Linked DNA regions of Homo sapiens: regions 1 and 2 are each linked to region 3. Evidence: promoter capture Hi-C in 16 types of primary human blood cells and fetal thymus (Javierre and others, 2016). All regions are on one chromosome and are shown on one strand. The core of a region is centred on a gene start or on the middle of the fragment in contact, and the rest is flanking DNA. Distances in the headings are between cores, read along the strand shown. Region 1 overlaps NRXN3 (neurexin 3). Region 2 overlaps NRXN3 (neurexin 3). Region 3 holds the start of TSHR (thyroid stimulating hormone receptor).

Evidence for each region. The method cuts DNA at HindIII sites, captures the fragments that hold promoters and counts their contacts. A CHiCAGO score of 5 or more calls a contact.
Region 1: a contact is called between a fragment that was not itself captured here and the fragment with the promoter of TSHR in region 3, in 1 of 17 cell types (endothelial precursors). The highest score is 7.8, in endothelial precursors.
Region 2: a fragment that was not itself captured here is called in contact with the fragment with the promoter of TSHR in region 3 in 2 of 17 cell types (endothelial precursors and M1 macrophages); the score reaches 18.8 in endothelial precursors.

What each region holds. Positions count from the first base shown.
Region 1 is chr14:78,913,109-78,915,808 of GRCh38, reverse strand. All of the region lies in intron 10 of NRXN3 (neurexin 3), which reads right to left. Among named protein-coding and RNA genes, the nearest start is that of NRXN3-AS1, 160 kb to the left of the region's middle. The HindIII fragment of the contact is 4,100 bases long and covers 1-2,700 here.
Region 2 is chr14:78,939,345-78,942,044 of GRCh38, reverse strand. The region is part of intron 10 of NRXN3 (neurexin 3); the gene reads right to left. Among named protein-coding and RNA genes, the nearest start is that of NRXN3-AS1, 130 kb to the left of the region's middle. The HindIII fragment of the contact is 1,012 bases long and covers 763-1,774 here.
Region 3 is chr14:80,954,298-80,956,997 of GRCh38, reverse strand. It overlaps TSHR (thyroid stimulating hormone receptor), which reads right to left and starts at 1,377. Exons shown (of 10, transcript NM_000369.5): 1 at 1,148-1,377. The coding sequence starts at 1,317. It also overlaps a transcript of CEP128 not described here. The HindIII fragment of the contact is 2,816 bases long and covers 1-2,574 here.

The DNA.
Region 1 (2,700 bases), core at 186-2,685, 2.0 Mb after region 3:
AATCACTGCTTTCATATACTGAAAAGGCCACATAATTTTACCCCTCTGTATCTTGGCACATGGAATTTCTTCCCTGAGACCCACCTTTCTTTTCTCCAACCCCAGATGCTGGCCCTCCCCATCATCCATCAAGAAGCTGCACAGAGGGTAACTCTGATCTGAATCTTTCAGTGAGAATTAAGCAATCCTGTCTGCCTATCACATTACAGTGCTATTTATTTCTATATATTTTCCATTTGACTGTGGGCTTCTTAAGGGCAAGAACTGTGTTTCATTTATATTTGTATCTCCAGTATCTAGAATATTTCTCATAACCTCATTGACACTGAACACTGAATAAATGGTACTAAACAGAAAATTGAATACTATTTCTTTGACTTCTCTAAACTCTTGTTCCCTCTGTTTTTGTTTGCTTGCTTGTTTTTTTTCTGTGTGGTTTTTTTTTTTTTTTTTTTTTTTTTTTGCTTCACACGTAGAAAGATGTTTGGGAAACGTAGTTCATTCATTTATATAGTAATAAAATATATTAAATACCAGTGTTTTATAAACCACACAGTACTCCATATATAGAAACTCTAAAATTGAAAACTCAATCCTTGACTTTTCCCTCTATTTTTATTCTCACCTCTTTAATTATCTACACACGCACATACCACTGACAATGGAAGGCAATTTATTGAGCCTCAGGGTCATCTTTCACAACTAGCCCTTAGGCAAAAACATCTCTTTCTGAGATTTCCTTTTCCATTAATTAAATTACCACTCAGGTACTATCTCAATATCTTTGAATTTTTATTTGCTTTCTCCTCTATTACTGGACATTCTGCTAAGTTGTACCATTTGTTCCAATCAAATGGAACAGAGAAAGAGGCTTACTTGAACAAATTATCCCCCCTCCTTCCCCTTATTGCTTGCTTGTTTTGTGTCAACCACTCCCAAATGATGTTCCTGCACCTCCCGTTGCCCCCTTCATTCCATTTTCCACACAGTAGCCAGGGTGATCTTTTCAAAACTGAAGACAGATCGTGTCACTCTTCTTCCCAGTTATTCCTGAGAGTAGAACCCAAAGTCCTCAAAATGGCCTACAGGACAATTCAGGATCTGCTCCTCTGCCACTTTTCTAGTCTCATCTCTTACTTTGCTTTAGCCACACGACCTCTTTGTTGTTTCTCAAACATACCAGGCTCCTAACTAAGCTCCATTATACTTTCTGCTTCCTCTGTTTGCAATGCTTTTCCTGCAGACACCTGTATCACTCATTCCTACCCATCTTTCCTCAAATGCCACCTTCTCACTCAGGCAATCTTTTACATCATTCGTTAAAGTAGTAAACCTTGGTCCTCCTCACCCTGACATACCCTATCCTTTTTCTTTGGTTATTTTCTCCCCAACGAACTTATCACCACCTGTTATACAATTTTAATTTCTGATGTATTTACTGTCTATATCCTCCATTAGAATGTATGTTCCAAGAGTGCAGGTATTTTTGTTTCTTTTGTTCATAGTTATACCCTCAGCTTCCTTGGACAATGCTTAGCACATATTTGGAGCCCAGAATACATTGATTCAATTGATGGATGCAATCATCTTCCTTTCCTTCTAATTTCCCTCACCAATCCATGCACACACAGGAGATGGACTAATAAATGAGGTGTTGGTTGGAGACCTGGTAGTAAGTAGAGTGTGAACTGTAATCATGGGTGGGAAATCACAGCAAATGAAGAGGGTCCAGTTTGGATTTCACAAATCCAAAGATGTCCAAGTTTCTTTCTTGGCTCAGATCAGTTCAAGAAGTGTTCAGAGACTCCGGCACAGAACTGGGAATAGGACTGGGATGTGTCAGTCCAGGCAGAGTCTTTAGGGCTGCCAGGGAGCCAATACATAAATAGCTGATAATAATGAGAATTCTAGAATAGTGGCTTCCAAACTAGCACCATGGGGATCAAGAAAAGACGATCCTGAGATTACCAAGTGTGGGGAAAGCCAGAGCTCCCACCTTCCCATGAGGCATCTCCAAACAAAGCAGTCCAGATTTCATCTGTTTTCTCTTTATGGACTTCAAGTAGGCTTTATTTCTTTTAAACAAAAGATTTTATCTGCTACAAACAAAGGCACAAGCAGAAACTTTAAACCTCATGGTTATATTCCCATGCCAACGAATATGAACATTTCTAAAGATTAGAAGAGGACATTGGATTTAGTGATTAGAAGGCTGTTAATATCTTAGAGGTGGCCGGCCGCGGTGGCTCACATCTATAATCCCAGCACTTTGGGAGGCCGAGGCAGGCAGATCACAAAGTCAAGAGATCGAGACCATCCTGGCCAACGTGGTGAAACCCCATCTCTACTAAAAATACAAAAATTAGCTGGGCATGGTGGTGCACACCTGTAGTCTCAGCTACTCAGGAGGCTGAGGCAGGAGAATCGCTTAAACCCGGGAGGTGGAGGTTGCAGTGGACTGAGATTGCGCCACTACACTCCAGCCTAGCAACACAGCAAGACTCTGTCTCAAAAAAAAAAAAAAAAAAAAAAAAGAAAGAAAGAAAGAAAGAAAGAAAGAAAAGAAAGGAAAAGAAAAAAGAAAAAAATCTTAGAGGTAACATCATCTATAATGTAAGGAAGCTGTAAAAATGGAATTGAGTTTCTCATTTTTGTGCTTACTTTCCGACCTGTACTTGTCTTTAGTAGATCTTATCAAGA
Region 2 (2,700 bases), core at 19-2,518, 2.0 Mb after region 3:
TCCAACATTGGTCTACTGTGGCTAGCACACAATCTCACAGTTCTCTCTACTCTCTGGCCTAGAAGCAAGTTTTTTCAGATTTTCCAAGATTCTAAATGGTGCCTCCTCTCTACACCCCTTTTGCTGATGGTGGTGCTTTTTAAATATGAGCACTGAAATAGGGTCCTTGCCACTTCAGGGCTAACTCGACAATCCCAAAGATGGCACAGGGGTGCTAGAGAACAGCTATGGGAGACCAGCGGGGATAATGACGCATAAAGTCATTGTTACACTTTGTACTGGAGCTTAATATTTAATCCCCAGAATACTGGGAAGTAAGCATTTTTATCCCATTTTACAGATGACAGCAGTAAGAAACAGGGATGTTAAGTTATCTCAGCCAAGGGTAAATAGCTACTAAGTAGATGCAAAGCCAAGCTTATCTGGGTTTATATAAAACTGCCTTCTGGATGGATGATGAATGTGTGAGTGATGGGTAGAACTTCAGATCAGACCTCCATAACCAATGGTGCTTCTGAGGGAGCAGATGTGAAGGTTTGCGGAAAACAAAGGGGTAGAGGAACTAGAAATGCTTCTTGGAACTGATACTTAGACTGGGTGAGAATGGGGGTGGCTGGGTGAGGCAGCAGGGGAATTTTGAGAAGCACCACGGGTAAGGAAAGGTGAATCCCTGCCAGCCCTAGATCATGCCACTGGAGGAGGGGACATTTGTATATGGAGGTAGTTGATTATACAGTGAGCTTATATTGACTGGGATAAGCTTGTAATGTCTGTGAGAACTTAATATCCCCCAGTTAGATGCAGCGTAGATCATCCTGGTCTCAATAACCTGACTTTCTACTTCTCATTGATTTTAAGGTGATGCTGGCTATGAACTCCACGAGGCCAGTGATTGTGCCTATTTTTTTCAGAATCTAGTCCAAGGCCTAGACATGGTAGTTACTTGACATGCATTTATATGAATGTATTTAAATGCAGCTTATGGACATTGAAATTCAAAGTGTGAATTGACTGCCATCCCCTAACACAGAAACAGGGAGAAAATGTGGTTATGTGCTTATTACAACTAATTATCCTGCTTGAGGCTACATATGCTCCTACTGAATCATAATCCTAGCTACCATTTATGCAGGGTTGTGAACTGATCCAGCTCTCTTGGGACCAGTGGAAGACAAGTTCTAATTCACAGCTTGATACACATTAGGTGCCCAACAGATCAGCACTACTTGCTGCTATTAATAATTTACAAAAACATATTTAAGTGATTTATAAAAAAATCTAGTAATGGGAGTACACGGTAGTTGGGGGAAAACGTTCAAGGGAAGAAATAAGAGAAAAATATCCCATCTAAACTGAATTTGTAAATGACAATTATAAAAATCATTCTATTCAAGGAACAAATATCTGCCAACTTGTTGTACAATAACATTTATTTGTTATTACTCATTAACTCAACAACTCATCAAATATTTACTGCTTATTTATAACACACTGGACATTGACTAGTGGCTGGAGATAAAAGGAGAAATATATTTTGATCCCTGGATCAAAGTTACTTACAGTCTAATGGAGTAGAGAGTGATATAAAAATGTAATACAATGTTTTAAGTGCTTTAATACTACTATGAGTTCTTTGCATTATACCTAAGGAACACAGGGAAAGAGAGAAGCTATTGGGAGTGTGTGTGTGCATATATACATGCACATTTGGGTCTGAGTTTGGGGTTAAGAAGATAGTGGTGTTCAAGTAATACTTGTTAGAGAAAGCAAAGCTTATGCTTTTTAATGAATGTGCAGAACTAGTGCTCCAGGTAGACAAGAGATTTTAAAAACTGCCACGTATAGAGATTAAGAGAGCATGCAAGTTCAGCAAATGTCGAGTACTTCCGTGTCGTAGGGTAGTGGAGGGCATTTTTATGAGAGGTAGGAAATGAGTCTAAAGATGTAGCCAGGAGGAGATTTTAAGAACCTGCTTACAAGAACCTGCTGTACTGAAAACTTTGTGTTTTATCTCCTAGATCAAAAAGAACTCTTAAAATATCTTAAACAGGCTGCAACGTGTGTTTGCTGCATTATTTAAGATTATTCGATTTTGTCATAGCAAGCAACAAAAAGTTGGATGGAACTTATAGAATGGATTAAAGCGTAGGGAGCAAATTGATAATCTCTGAGAGCTGTGAGACATAGAGAAAATAAAAAGAGCACGTGTGTGCTGAACAAAGATAAAAAGGATGAAATAAGAGAGTTACTTCCCCATAGAAAGGGATGAAAGTACAGAGTAAACCTTAAATATTTATGAAGCTCAGACAATCTCTGTTGACTCCTTCATCCCTAAACTGGTCAACCCATTGGTGACATCCATTTTGGTCCCATTCTGGCCCCACATTTGCTCTGGTTGATACATAGAGATAAAACATATATCTAGTCACCAGGCTAATTGGCAAGTGATAGCTATGGCCAGATATACTTGCCCTTGTGTCTCCCCAGGAGGGCAATGGTGTAACAGGACCAGTGTTTCCCAGCTGTTGTATCCCTTTCTTAATCTCAACTCTGGTTCTTGTAACTACTTCATCAGCAGGGAAGACTAATATGGCAGAGAGGGAACCAAGGTAGATGAACATTGTGTAACCAAGGATTGAGATATGGTAGTCTTTCTATCCCACTTGCACACTCTCCTGTGTTTATTGAACCAATCACTTT
Region 3 (2,700 bases), core at 128-2,627:
AGAATTTTATTCTAGAGGTGACAAGCAACCTATGTAGAGGTGTAATCAAGAGGCCATTACACCTTTTACACATCTTATTCTGTGGTGGCAGCATGGAGAATGACTACCACACTGTTTGGAGGTTATTGAACTAATTAATTCAGGTGTGCTAAGACACTAGGATATCTCTGAGCACAGAAATATATCTCTGTGCTCAAATATTCATCTACTGTTAAATAGTCTTCATGAGCTAAATTCTTGAGAAAATCTAGAGGTGCAACTTTCCCATTTCTTTTCATCTATCAACATTTTCTTTAATAACCTGCATTTTTTTTTATCTTAACTGGATTTAACCAGCCTAGGTTGTTTTACTGTCCTTTCTTTCTGTTCTCTTTTTAACTAATCAAGACAGACTTTATTCCCTTGGTTTTGTCTACAATTTCAATGATCACTGATTTAAATTGCTGTTAAGAAACAGGTTGTGTGTGTATAATCTTATTTAACATCAGGTTTCTAATCTGGTAACATTTAACATGCAGATAAATGTACTATACTTTTATGAAATTTCATTTCTTTATACCTCTATCACAAAGCAGGGTTCTGGACGTACTATTTCACTGGCAGTTCACATTTGAGTAAGTAACTTACAGATACTGTATAGACAGTTCATTTTAAAAAGGGCCCCTGCTTAAACCTTTGTCAACAATTTGATGAATCAGCAGAACTGCTAAGATAACCTCCCATCTAGAGAAACAAAAAGGAGAAATACATATTTTTGCAATTTTTTATTACCCAAGGTAAGATCAAAAAGGTCAGTTCCTGAGATGCCATTATCCTTATTAATTCAAATAAAACAGATTCAACCAGGGTTAGGCAAAGTGCTGAATAGCAGCTTGTTGGAAAGAACAGCTCTCACGGTCATTGTACACCAAAGTTTTGTAACATTTTCCTGTGTTGGGAATGAGGATGTCAACAATGATACCTTCCCAAGTGTGGGCGATTAAGTTTTTAGCACACACACACATCTACACACACAGACATTCACTCACACATACACACACTCACACACTACTTCGGGCTGTTATTGAGCTGCTTTTGTGCACTTCGGGCCACCTCTGCAGATGCCCTTGATCTCTGGGTCCTACCCTGATCTCTCCCGGGTACTCACAGAGTCTGCGTACTGGGCGGTAAGCTGGGGATGCGTTGAATATCCTTGCAGGTGACTCTGAAGTCCTCCTCCTGATGGCACTCGCAGGGTGGAGACGAACACCCCATTCCGCCCAGGTCCCTGGGCAGGTCGAGCAGCAGCACCAGCTGCAGCAAGTCCGCCGGCCTCATTTTCCACGGGACTCGGGGCTATTTCTCCATCCTCCGAAATCGCCTCATTCTCAGCTCTGCACCTCGGGTTACCCCAGGCCAAAGGAGACCCGGGAGCGGGAGGGGTGGGAAGAGGGAGGGCTCCAAGGGGCTGTGACCTCACCACTGTGGAGGAGGCTGGAGAAGGGGAAAAAGAGGCACTTAAGTGCTCCGCTTCCCTAGGCAACCTTGACCCAAACAAGTCTGCTTGCTTCACTTTCCTTGGCTGGACCCACGCAGTCCGCTCCGTCTGTTCCCTGACACCCAACACCAGTCCTGGCTGTCCCCTCTGTTTTCCAGCCCGCCCCCCCACCCCGGGCGCCCCTCCCATTAGTTCTCTCCAAAGCCTAGTTTAGATGCCCCCTCCTTTCCTCCTCTTTAAATCCAAGGAGCCACCTTCCCTAGCGTGTAGCCTTCTAGACACCCTGTCTGCCTGGGAGCCACTCGCACGCACTCCTTATCCAGAGAAAGTCCCCGCGGAGTGGACTGTCCGCGGGCGGACCAATGTCCTGCAGAACTTCAGCTCCTCCTGGCCAGAGACACCTCTGCTGAGGGTCAGAGGCGGGCACGCAGCCCTGGCTAGCCCGCGGTGCGGCCGAAGCCGTCGCCCTGCACCCCTGGAGGATTCTCGTTGCTATCCAACTGCAGGGGCCACTCCGGTGGTTGAGTCGACTGGCAGCGGCCGCCTCACGTTGCAGCCCGCGGCTCCGCGAGGCAATTCAGGAACTGAACTTTGGGGCCATCTGCTGGGAAGAATCGGGAATGGCAGAAATAATTCCAGGTTCCCTTAATAATGGGTCCAGTATGGAAATTCTGGTCGACCCAAGAATTTCATTGAGTCATATTCCCCCTGGAAGATGGGAAGAAAAATAATACTTAAGTGGCATACTCACCATTCTTCGCACAGTAGCCAAAAAGATCATTACAAACATAAATCAGATTGTGCCTATTTCCTTCTTAAAAGTCTTCAATCACTTATTCCTCTTGGGATAAAAGGAATGTCAATTCCTTCTATACTGCATAATTCCTTTTATATGAACTTGGCTAGGACAGGAAGGAAAAAGTTGTGGTTATGGGAATCAGAATAAAGGTTAGGAAAGATTGACTAGAAAAAGACAGGAGGGAACACACAGGGTTTCCATATCGTAATTAGGCTGGAGGTTAAGTGGATGTATACATTTATCAAAATTCATTAAACCGTACATTTAAAATATGTGTATTCCAAATTTTACAGAAGCTTTATTCATAACCACTAAACGAACCAAGTGTCTCGCGACTAGATAATGGATAAACAAACTCTGATACCTCCACATTGGAATACTATTCTGCAATAAAAATGAATGAACTGCTGATACAACATGCACA